Regions from separate parts of the Homo sapiens genome. Here regions 1 and 3 are each linked to region 2. The links are contacts of gene promoters, found by promoter capture Hi-C in human tissues and cell types (Jung and others, 2019). All regions are on one chromosome and are shown on one strand. Each heading gives the region's core, a stretch centred on a gene start or on the middle of the fragment in contact. The rest is flanking DNA. Distances are from core to core; before and after follow the strand shown. Region 1 overlaps ANAPC1 (anaphase promoting complex subunit 1). Region 2 holds the start of MERTK (MER proto-oncogene, tyrosine kinase). Region 3 overlaps MERTK (MER proto-oncogene, tyrosine kinase).

The links. The method cuts DNA at HindIII sites, captures the fragments that hold promoters and counts their contacts. A contact is called where the count stands out against the background at its distance.
Region 1: a contact is called between a fragment that was not itself captured here and the fragment with the promoter of MERTK in region 2, in 1 of the 25 tissues and cell types used here (bladder).
Region 3: a contact is called between a fragment that was not itself captured here and the fragment with the promoter of MERTK in region 2, in 1 of the 25 tissues and cell types used here (dorsolateral prefrontal cortex).

The regions. Positions count from the first base shown.
Region 1 is chr2:111,851,825-111,855,803 of GRCh38, reverse strand. The region is part of intron 13 of ANAPC1 (anaphase promoting complex subunit 1); the gene reads left to right. Among named protein-coding and RNA genes, the nearest start is that of ANAPC1, 30 kb to the left of the region's middle. The HindIII fragment of the contact is 4,477 bases long and covers 70-3,979 here.
Region 2 is chr2:111,897,357-111,901,326 of GRCh38, reverse strand. It overlaps MERTK (MER proto-oncogene, tyrosine kinase), which reads right to left and starts at 2,720. Exons shown (of 19, transcript NM_006343.3): 1 at 2,531-2,720. The coding sequence starts at 2,591. RefSeq lists an enhancer at 3,252-3,581. The HindIII fragment of the contact is 10,682 bases long and covers 1-3,970 here.
Region 3 is chr2:111,942,778-111,946,794 of GRCh38, reverse strand. MERTK (MER proto-oncogene, tyrosine kinase) reads right to left here. Exons shown (of 19, transcript NM_006343.3): 3 at 1,735-1,835. Among named protein-coding and RNA genes, the nearest start is that of MERTK, 46 kb to the right of the region's middle. The HindIII fragment of the contact is 5,421 bases long and covers 1-4,017 here.

The DNA.
Region 1 (3,979 bases), core at 1,059-3,558, 45 kb after region 2:
GCCAGTATCCTTATTTTTATTACATTCTTTTGTGATTGCATCCTATCTTCCCCTGCCCTCGAGATAGAATCCTGATTTTGTGATAAATCAGTTGTTTGTATTACTAGTTTTTACAGTTATGTATGTATCACTAAAGAATGCATTATTTAGTTTTCCTTGTTTTTGAATTTTTATATAAAAAAAGATACCATGTACTCGCCTCTGATATACTTATTTTGCTCAACATTATATTTGTTTTAGATTTGTCTGTGTTGATGCGTGTGTTGTTTACTCATTCAGTGTGATGTATATATTTAATAGTATTCCATCGTACCTCATTTTGTGCTTTGCTTTATTGTACTTCACAGATACTGCATTTTTTTTTACAGATTGAAGGTTTGTGGCAACTTCGTGTTGAGCAAGTCTGTTGGTGCCATTTTTCCAGCAGCATGTGCTCATTTTGTGTCACTGTTTCAAATATTGATAATTCTTGCAATATTTCAAACCTTTTTGTTATTAGTTTATCTGTTATGGTGACCTGTGATCAGTGGTCTTTGATGTTACTATTGGAATTCTTTTGGGGCACCACGAACTGTACCCATATAAGATGAGGAACTTAATTGATAAATGTTTTGTGTGGTCTGTCTGATCATTTGACCCCTTTCCTGTCTCTCTGTCTCCTCCTGCCTCACTATATCCTGAGACAAAACAATATTGAAATTAGACCAATTAGTAACCCTCTAATGGCCTCTAAGTTTTCAAATGAAGGGAAGAATCACAGGTTTCTCACTTTACATCAAAAACTAGAAATGATTAAGCTTAGTGAGGAAGGCGTGTTGAAAGCTGAGATAGGTTGAGAGCCAGACCACCTGTGCACAAGAGCCAACTTGTGCATGCAGAGGAAAAGCTCTCGAAGGAAATTAAAAGTGCTATTTCAGTGAACATGGCAACTGATAAAGCGAAACAGCCTTATCGCTGATATGAAGAAAGTTTTAGTGTCTGGACAGAAGATCAAACCAGCCATAACATTCCCTTATGCTGAAGTCGAATCCACAGCAAGGCCTTAACTCTCTTCAATTCTGTGACGGCCAAGAAAGGTGAAGAAGCTGCAGACGAAAAGTTGTAAGCTAACAGAGGTTGATTCTTGAGGTTTAAGGAAAAAAGCCCTCCCCATAACACAGAAGTGCAAGGTGAAGCAGCATGTGCTGATGTAGAAGCTGCTAAGATAATTGATGCAGGTGGCTACACTAAACAGATTTTCAGTGTGGATGAAACAGCTTTCTGTTGGAAGAAGATGCCATCTAGGACTTTCATAACCTGAGAGGAGAAGTCAGTGCCTGGCTTCAAAGGACAGTCTGACTCTCTTGTTAGGGGCTAATGCAGCTGGTGACTTAAAGTTGAAGCCCGTGCTCATTTACCATTCCAAAAATCTTAGGGCCCTTAAGAATTATGCCAAGTCTGCTCTGCCTGGGCTCTATAAATGGAGTAACAAAGACTGGATGCCAGCACACCTGTTTATAGCATGGTTTACTGAATGTGTTAAGCCCACTGTTGAGACGTATTGCTCAGAAAAAAGATTCCTTTCAAAATATTACCGCTCATTGACAGTGCACCTGGTCATCTAAGAGCTCTGAGGGAGATGTACAGGAGATGAATGTTGTTTTCATGCCTGCTGACACATCTGTTCTGCAGCCTGTGAAGGAGTAATTTTGACTTTAAAGTCTTACTATGAAATACATTACTTAACTGGAGCTGCCATAGATAGTGATTCCTCTGAGAGATCTGGCAAAGTCCACTGAAAACCTTCTGGGCTGGGCGTGGCAGCTCACACCTGTAATCCTAGCACTTTGGGAGGCCGAGGCAGGTGGATCATGAGGTCAGGAGATCGAGACCATCCTGGCTAACACGGTGAAACCCTGTGTCTACTAAAAGTACAAAAAATTAGCCGGGCGTGGTGGCGGGTGCCTGTAGTTCCAGCTACTCGGGAGGCTGAGGCAGGAGACTGGCGTGAACCCAGGAGGCGGAGCTTGCAGTGAGCCGAGATTACGCCACTGCACTCCAGCCTGGGCGACAGAGGGAGACTCCATCTCAAAAAAAAAAAGAAACCTTCTGGAAAGGATTCACCTTTCTAGATGCCATTAAGAATATTCATGATCCATGGGAGGAGGACAAAATATCAACATAAACAGGAATTTGGAAGAAGTTGATTCCAACCCTCATGGGTGACTTTGAGGGGCTCAAAACTTCAGTGGAGGAAGTCACTGCAGATGTGGTGGAAATAGCAGGAGAATTAGAATTAGAAGTAGAGCCTGAAGATGTGACTAAATTGCCAAGATCTTATGATTAAACCTGAACAGAATTGCCAAACTTGAACAGAATTGCCAAAATCTTATGATCAAACTTGAAGAGTTGCTTCTTCTGGATGAGCAAAGAAAGTGGGAACATACAGAAAACAAATATTAAATGGCAGATTTAAATCCCACTAGGCCACTAATTAAATACAATGGTCTAACACAAATAACAGAGACTAGCGGAAGAGATTAGAAAATACAGCCCAACTATATATGTTGGTTATAAGAAGTGTTCTTCAAATATAATGACATGGGTAAGTTAAAGGATGGAAAGAAGATATATTATGCAAACAGTAATCAGAAGATAGCTGGAGTCTCTATAAAGTGGGAAAAAAAAATGACCAGGAACAAAGAGAGACTTTAAAGGGCCAAATCACCAAGAAGGCACCCTTGAGTATTTTATAAATGTCAGTTCATTCCATTTGGTTGATAATGTTGTTCATGTCCTCTCCATCCTTGGCAATTTCTTTTCTCTTCTTTTTTTTTGATACAGTATCTCTCTCTGTTACTCAGGCTGGAGTGCAGTGGTGGGATCACAGCTCACTGCACCCATGACCTCCTGACTCAAGCGATCCTCCCACCTCAGCCTCCCAAAGTGCTGGGATATTACAGACATGAGCCACCACATCAAGCCTGGCAAACTTTTTATGTAGGAGTTCAGACAAGTATCTTAGCCTCTATGGGCCACATGCAGTCTCTGTTACATATTTGTCTTCTGTTTTTTTTTTCCTTAACCATTTAAGTACGTAAAACCTATTCTTAGCTCACAGACTGTACAAAAACAGGATACGAGCCAGATTTGGTCATGGAACATGGTTTGCTGACCAAGGATCTAAATAGATGCAGAGAAATCATTTGATAAAATAAAATATCCATGATTAAAAAAAATCCTCAGCATCTAGAAATAGAAGGGGACTTCCTCAAATAGACGAGGGACATTCAAAATTTTCACTGTGCCTCCTGATGAGGAGGAAGGGATGGCCATGACTTTTTTCTTGGTGTTTGCAAAGAGTAGGGCAGATATAGTGAAAAGTTTCTGTCCTGGTCAGTCATTCTTTTCCCAACACTTTGGCTGGAAAGAGTAAGATTTTCTTAGGGCGTGTTTTGTCTGTGAACGTTGGCATGTCTGTGTTATAGGCACTTTGAAAGCCTAAGGCCTGGTTACGTAAGGAATCAAACCAGAAACCTAGGGAATTCATCATTAGGTCATTCCTGGGTCTCAGGTTACTAGCCAGTTTGTCTTCTTTTCTTCACTTTTTCAGAATCTTCTGTTAGTTGCATTATAAATTTTATTCAGTTTTTTTTTCTTTTTGGTGATTAATGAGGGAATAGCATGGTATGTGCTTATTCCATCTTTTCGTAAATTAGGGGTTTGAGATAGCTTTTAAAAAATTATGCATAATTAGTTCTCACTGTTATTTTTGTTTTTTAAGCCTAAGGATTTTATTGGGGCAACTTCTGTTATTTTGTTAGCTTTTGAGTAGTGTGTTAACATGAATACGTACGTTGTTAATATCTCATTTTAGTTCTGAGCATCTCCTTTTTAGTCTTATCAAGTTTTCAGCTTGTACAGATGTGAATTTCTGTTTTTGCTAAGTACCCTACAGATAGCCAAAATAAGGAGTGGTTAGCACGGATTGTCAACTCAT
Region 2 (3,970 bases), core at 1,471-3,970:
TCTTAAAAGCCTAATTTACTCTAAGGGTTGAGTTTAGCTGCACACACAGCCTCGTCATGAGCTAAGTCCTCATAATGCATTCATTTTTATCCACATTTATATTTATCTTGCTCCATCCTCTCCCTGGCCCTTCAGAGAGCCACCGCTTGCCTCATTTTGCTGCTCAATGGCACCCCCATCAGAGACTGAGCAGAAAGGAAAGACTGGAAAGCCTCGAAATGCTCCTGGTTTGGCAGTTCCAGTTCTGTGTGTGCATGTCTTTGTGAGACGTGTAGTGTGTATGTGTGTTGGGGGGCAGAGGGGATTTCCTGGGTTAAAGTGATGCTTAAATTTTATTTACCCATTCTTCTATACTGCTAACAGTGTAGAATCTACACACATATTCTCATTGTCTCTCTCTCTGTCTCCCCTGTGTGGTCAGCAAAGCACTCAGACCCACAATGTGTAATAGGAAAATCTTAAAATTAGATGAAGAGTCTAATTTCCATGTTTAATTTCTTCATACAGCACTCCTTTGTGCTGTAATTCTGCCAGTGAGAATCCCATTCTTTAAGCTTTTCACAAGGTGAGATGTAAAACTGTCACACATCTCATAGGTAAAGTTCAAAACCAAAAGCAAAAAGTGCAAGAACGATTGGTGAAACTTTTCATTCTTCCAGCTGGGTGGATTTTAAAAGGCCTTTTTATGATTGTCTGATTAAAGTTGATTGTCAGCTACAAAAATTTGTTATTACAGCCTTTTAAAATTTTAGAAAAACAAAAGCACTCCAATTTTTAAGTATTTAACACAAAACTATTGTTCCCATTACTTTCTCCATAGTTCTCACCACATTCACTACCTCCAAGACTATTCACGGCCAGTCCTCACTAGTAGCAACAAATAACAGATTTGCAGCAGATTATGAAAAATGGGGCTGGCAGAAATGCTGAGGAATTTTTGAAGGTTTGGTGGAGGGAGGGGCAGTGGAGAACAGAACTGCTTTAGTTCTTTGCCTGGCTCTTAAAGTTTGTTTCAAATTGCTATGTTGCCCCAAATTATAAATTGCTTATGTAATTTAACGTGCAAAAAGTGGGTGCACTGTTTAAGAATTTTTCATTTGAGTAAATGAGCTTTCAAAGGAAAATCTCAAAGGAAAAACTTTTAAGTAACTTACTTGACTATAAACTGAGCTTTCCAGGTATTCCTAAAAAACATCTTTGACTGTAATAGGTGAAGGCTAGTCAAGTGCATTCTCGATCAAAAGAGAGAAAATCTACATGCTGAATGGAAATAGAAACCTTTTAGCTGAGAGAAAATACTTGGAATGTGTTTATTTAGCATTTTTCCCCTTTCTTTTTCTTTTGGGTAAAGCCTGGTAAGTTTATTCCAGCCTCCTCAAGAAGTGCATCAGCGATCAAACTTGAAATCTGTTCATCACTCACTCCCCAAATAAGCTGTTCAAGCAGAATGAAACCGGCCTTCCTTGCCTCCACGTATCAGTCCAGCATCTTGTATTAAAATGCCTGGAACAAGCCGGGCGCGGTGGCTCACGACTGTAATCCCAGAACTTTGGGAGGCCAAGGAGAGCAGATCACGAGGTCAAGAGATCGAGACCATCCTGGCCAACATGGTGAAACCCCGTCTCTACTAAAAATACAAAAATTAGCCGGACGTGGTAGCGCGCGTCTATAGTCTCAGCTACTCGGGAGGCTGAGGCAGGAGAATCGCTTGAACCCGGGAGGCGGAGCCTGCAGTGAGCCGAGATCGCGCCGCGGCACTCCAGCCTGGGCGACAGGGCGAGACTCGGTCTCAAATTAAAAAAAAAAAAGCCTGTAACAACACTTCGCTGAATCCAGATAAACGTAAACGCTGCCGAGCACTGTAAGTTCTGTTCTGCCATAACAGGAGTGAAAAGAACGCTCCCCTTTTCCCACACTCTCTGGGTGCCCCTAAAAAGGGATACTAATAATGCCCGTAAGGGCCCATTGGGAGCAGCCAGGACTGCCGTCCCCCCCTGGCCCGTCGCTCGGCCTCAGTCTATCGCGGCTCCCGGACTGCGGCTCCGACTCCCGCAGCCCGTTCGTTCGCCCCGCGCCGGTCCCTCGGGAGACCGGATCTGTGGCCCCCGGGACTCCGGCCAGAGCGGGGCCCCACCATGCAACTCTAGTGGAAAGTTCTCGTCGCATCCCAGACCAGACCTGCTACCTACGTTCCACTCGTCGGAACTTCAGGACTTGCAGCGCGCCCGGCCGAGCTCGATTTCCTCCTCTGCGGTGAAGAGGGGAGCCTGCAACGCCGACCCCGACCCGGCTTCACCACGATGCGCACCCGCAAGCCAGGCTGGGTGCCCTCGGGACGCTTGAGGCGCCGCGGTCAGTGGACGGTAGGTTCGCCTACGCCCCCTCCTCTGGCACCGCAGTGGGTGGAGGGTGTTTGCAAACTTGTCCAGCAGCCAGGCGCGCCCCTGTGGACGCGCTCCCTCCCCAGAGGCCCCTGCTTCCTCCTGGGAGCCCCCACCCCCTCGCCTGGCCCCCAGCCGGGCGCACTCACCTCTACGCCAGAGCGCGGGGAGGAAGAGGCCCAGCAGCAGCGGCAGCGGGGCCGGCCCCATCCCGGGGCTGCGGATCTGTAATTTCTCTCCGGACGGATGGACAGATGGACGTCCCGAACCTGTCCTGTCGCCGGCCAAGCGCGCCAGCGAAGCTCCCTGTCCGGGCGGCCCGGGCAGTGAGTGCCGAGTGGCGGAGCCAAGCGGCCGGCGGGAGGTGCCGAGGGCTGGAAGGGGCGGGCCGGGGGCCGAGCCGAGGCCGGCCGGGGCTGGAGGAGAGGAGCGGGCAGGGGGGCGAGTCCCGGCGGGCCCAGCAGGTTGGGGTGGGAGGGGGCGGGAGGACGAGGGGGAGGAGGGGCGTAAAGGGGAAAGGGAGGGGGTTGGAGAGAAGGGGCGGGCCGAAGGCCGCCGCTGGGCAGACGGCGGGGAAGGGGGCGGAGAGGAAGGGGAGGGGGCTGAGAGACCCGGAGGGAGCCGGAAAGAGAAGTGAAGGGGAGGGGTGGACTGGAGGTCCACAGCGGAAGGCTCTGGCCGCTGCGCGGGTCCGGGGCCCCACACGTGTGGGTGGGAGATGGGGAAGGACAGAAGGTGGGAGAGGAGTAGAGGATGCCCGAGGCAGCCCCCAGACCCAAGAGGAGGGTCCAGAGGCGCCCCCGCATTCCGGGCTTGGCTGACACAGAAAACCCTGGCCGCGCCGCTCCCAGAGGCCAAGGCCAGGGCGGCAGCGCTCCCTGCCGAGCGCTCCTCCACATCCATTCCGCTCGCCGCCGAGCGCCGCCTGGGTACCCGGCCCGAGGTGCGCGACACGGCCCTGGCGGCGAGGAGCTCACCTCCCCAGGGGGAGGGGTTCCTGGGAAAGGACGCTTTGCCGTGGCTCCGTGACGAGCCAGAGAGAGGTGACACTCAAGGAGGGAGATGAACGTGAATGACAAAGTGCAGAGCAGGAGTGGGGAGAGGGGGAACCACAGCACGTCACTCTCATGGGCCTCCACAAGGTGTGCAGGGTCCAAGAGGCAGTAGCAGAGAGTGAGTCGTAAGAGAAATGTAACTACTTACGCTAATAATGGCAACAGTAACTTAATTTATATACGTAGTTTCTTAAAGGTAACACTTTTAGAATGAATGTATTTTAATGTGGTCCCTTTAACAACATAACATAAGCCAAATCATGTCCCTCTCCTCAAATCTCCCTAAACCTATCAGTGGTTCCTGCTGTCTCTGCGTACGTAAGCCAAGGTTCTGCAGTGGTCTACGAGGTTCTACGTGACCTGGTCCCCTTTCCTCTTTGGCCTCATCTCCTTACGCCTCTTCAATTTACGTTGGTCTCGTCAAGCGGTCCCTTGACCCCTACACTGGCTGGACACTTCCCGTAGATTTGGCTACGGGAAGGAGACAGGCAGCCCAGATGGGTTTAGACAGGTTATTACTTACACCGACAGCAA
Region 3 (4,017 bases), core at 559-3,058, 46 kb before region 2:
TTCTTACATCAGGTGTTGCTCAAACTCCTGGGACTGACTAGTTGGCAGGTTTTCAGTATTTCTTACCAAAATAAACGCAGAGTAAAACAAAGCTATGTAATAGATCTGTCCATGGTACGAAGACATTCTATTATGTGTGTGACTTTCAGATGGGTCATAAGGAATTTTAAAATCCACAGCCTTGTATAAGGCTGAGTGCTTTTCAAAGCAAATTCTCATGAAAACTGTATAAACACAGTTGCAGTTACAATCCTTAAATCTACCGTACTTTCCAAAATCAAGGTCCCAAGGAAGCTCAGAGAAAGCCAGTCAGTACTCATTTGGGGCAGGTGTTCAAAAATATAACGAGTCCAGCTAATTGTGTTCTTTTGGGGATTGGGAACTCACAGATCTGGTTCCAGCAGGAATGACGTGGCAGTTATGTGAAATGGAATTCTTTTATCCTGTTTCAAGGTTTTTTTGAAACTCTGTTTGGACTTAATATGTTCCTGCTCTGGGCATTTTTCTGGGATTCTGACAAATAAAATCTCCTGTAAATATTTTTTTCCCAAATTAGCTGCAAATGTAGGAAACCCCCTCTTTGGCTGATGTTGACGTAACCCTGAGAAAGAGCTGTCCAGCCTGGGATGGGCCTAGAGCAAAGGTCATGAAGAGACTCCTCTGAGGGAGTCTCTTCCCCCTCCCCTCTGTCTTCCCCACTCACTCCTCCTCCTTCCATCTGTGCTCCCTGAGGCTTCCCTCCACATTGGTGGGCATCAATTTCAGGTTCACAAAAGAATGGGTAGCATAGCAGACTTTCAGTGGGAGATGTTTCTGACTGAAAAGCTAATCACCTGCTCTAAAGCCTGTGACAAGGAAGGTCAGGATAAAGTAGAAAAGGGAGGTGACCTAATGGCTCTGCTAAGAGGGGCACCTCAGAGAGGAGGGGCACAAGGCCCCCAGAGGGAAGCCCCCAGGGGTAGTGAGGAGTGACCTCTGAGGGTGATAATAAAGATGCTTCCTCCTTGCAGCACTGCCATTGCAGAACCAGGCATGCAAACCCCCAAATCAGGGCACCAAACCAGGACCTGGGCTCACCTGGCCTGGTTCACCTGTGCATCAGCTCACATTGCCCATTAGAGTTCAAGTTCCCTGAGGGCAGAGATTGCCTTTTCCTAGCCTGATGTCTCACTCTTCATCCCCATGGACCTTCATATGATGTCATGGAATTTCTCTGAACCATGCACCTGACAGATACCAGTGCCCAAAAGAAGTCTCAGGCTGAGCTGTTGAGCCAGTCGAGGAAAACCACTCACCCTCCAGGGTTTCACTGTCTGCATAGGCAAGACAGGAAAAGATGCTGAATAATAAGCCAACAGCCACTTGACCAGGTGAGTGGTATCTGGTACCAGTACTGGAAACTGGATAGTAGAAAGCATTTTGCTTCTTAAAAAGAAGTCTTCAGCTTATTTTTATTGTCAATAATCTGTGGACAAGGAAGTCCAAAATCTCTTTTTATCTCACCTGTAATGCCTATAATAGAGCTCAAACTTCAGGAATTGAATTCATTTCATTATTACTTATAGACTACAAAGTGGAGTACCTTGTAAAATTTCAGTGCTGATAGATTTGCAAGGTTTGCATACAGAGTTATAAATAGGCAGGCAAAACTCTAGAGTATTATACACAAAACATTTAACACAGGCCCTAAAACAAACAGTTCTCTGGCAATGGGACTCTGGTCTGTGGACTTACCTTGTACTTCGATGTAGATGGGATCAGACACGATCTCTTCATTGTTTATTTTCATCTTACAGATATACGACCCATTGTCTGAACGCTGCACACTGGTTATGCTGCAAAGAAAAACACATGAAGATATTTACAGTGACTACCCTTTGAGTTCCTATTATAGGATGGAAACTTCTTCAACTTCTTTGTCATATGCTGTGATAGTTAATTTTATATGTCAGCTTGGCTAGGCCATTGTACGCAGTTGTTTGGTCAAACCCTAGCCTAGATGTTGCTGTGAAGGTACTTTTCACATGTCACTAGCATTTAAAGCAGCAGCCTTTGAGTAAAGCACATTACTCTTCATGATGGGGGCAGGCCCCATCCAAACAGTTGAAGGCCTTATAAGAAAAAGACAGAGGTCCCCAGGGAAAGAGGGGCTTCTGTTTCCAAACTGCCTGAGGACTCAAGACTGCAACATCAAGTCTTTCATGGGTCTCCACCCAACACCCTGTTGATTCCATATTTGTCAGCCCCCACTGTGTGTGAGCTAATTCCTTAAAACAGAGGAATTATTTTAAGGAATTCATAATTTAGGAATTAATAAATAATTTAGGAGTTAATTTAAGGAACTAAGGAAAATTCCTTAAAATAATTCCTCTTTCTCTCTCTTTCTAGATAAAGCTGTAGACACAGATCCTATAGGTTCGGTTTCTTGGAAAAACCCTGACTAATATATGTGCTATCACTTGTCTTGATTTTTTTTTTTTTTTTTTTTTTTGAGACAGATTCTGTCTCACTCTGTAGCCCAGGCTGGAGTACAATGGCATGATCTCAGCTCACTGCAACATCTGCCTCCTGGGTTCAAGTGATTGTCCTGCCTCAGCCTCCTGAGTAGCTGGGATTACAGGCATGCGCCACCATGCCCGATTAATTTTTGCATTTTTTAGTAGAGACAGGGATTTGCCATGTTGGCCAGGCTGGTCTCGAACTTCTGACCTTAGGGGATCCACCCACCTTGGCCTCCCAAAGTGCTAGGATTATGGGCATGAGCCACCATGCCCGGCCACCTGTCTTGATTTCTATGGTAGACTCTGCACCAGTGGTTCTCTGCATTGGGGTACTGCCCCCTCAAGGCATTTTGGAAATTTGTGGAGTTGTTTTTGGTGGTCACAATGACTAGGGGGGCTCCATGGGTTTTTAGGGGCCAAGGGCAACTGTTCCATATCCCAAATGACCTCCTGAGACTAGACCCTAATTCCATTTAACATACTTGTATGGTTTCAATATTCACCTAATTTACCAGGACTGCAATGACTATAAAAATGGAGAGCTGGTAGCCTTTGTCCTGTTTAGAACTTTCTGGGGCCCTAGCCATCATTTTGTAAGGTCTCTCACTGACAGCATGACTGTATTTGCAGCAGTCACAGGTCAAGTGCTTGAAGGTGCACCTAAGGTGCAAGTCCCTGGGTACTTAATGATCTCTCCTGGGGTGGACATGCCCGGTGTTTACATGTTGAAATGCACATTTTATTTTATTTTATTTTAGATGGGGTCTCGCTCTGTCACCCAAGCTGGAGTGCAGTTGCACCATCATGGCTCACTGCAGCCTTGAACTCCTGGGCTCAAGCCATCTTCCCACCTCAGCCTCCCAAAGTGCTAGGATTACAGCCATGAGCCACCGTTCTCAGCCGGGGAACATTTTTAAATACTTTCAGATGCTCTCCAGAGGATTTCTTTATTGGCTCAAAGACACTCCTCTTTAAACACAGCAAAGAAGACCATGACCAGGGGAACGAAGAAAAAGAAGAAAAACATGGAAGTTCCACCTTCCTTCCTAGAAGCTTGCTTCCCTGTATAACCTATTTATTTCTAAACAAAATAAATCTCATCCCTCAACCTGTGAAGGGCTGAGGCTTAAGGCTTAAAAGAAACCAGGAAGCTGTCAAGGGTAGAGGGGGCTCCATCCTGAACCATGGCCTGATAGGCAGGGGTGGCAGCTGCCAGAGGATAGCACAGCCTGGTTAGCATCTGGAGCAGACATGTGGTAGTGAGTGAGGTCCCCAGGTCTGAATGAGACAGAGTTTCCTTAGGTTGAATTCAGTTTTCTGAACACTAAACATTTTAAATTTACTTCTTCCCAACAATACCATTTTGCAGATCCTCATTGGCCTGTGATAAATAGAGCAGCTAAGACACAGCTCAACAATGGCATCAGTCAGAACTCGGGGGGTCAGAGCTACTCAGGTTAACATTACTTCCTTACTGTTCCCAGGATCCAGGAGTTAACAGTCCCCTGTCATTGCA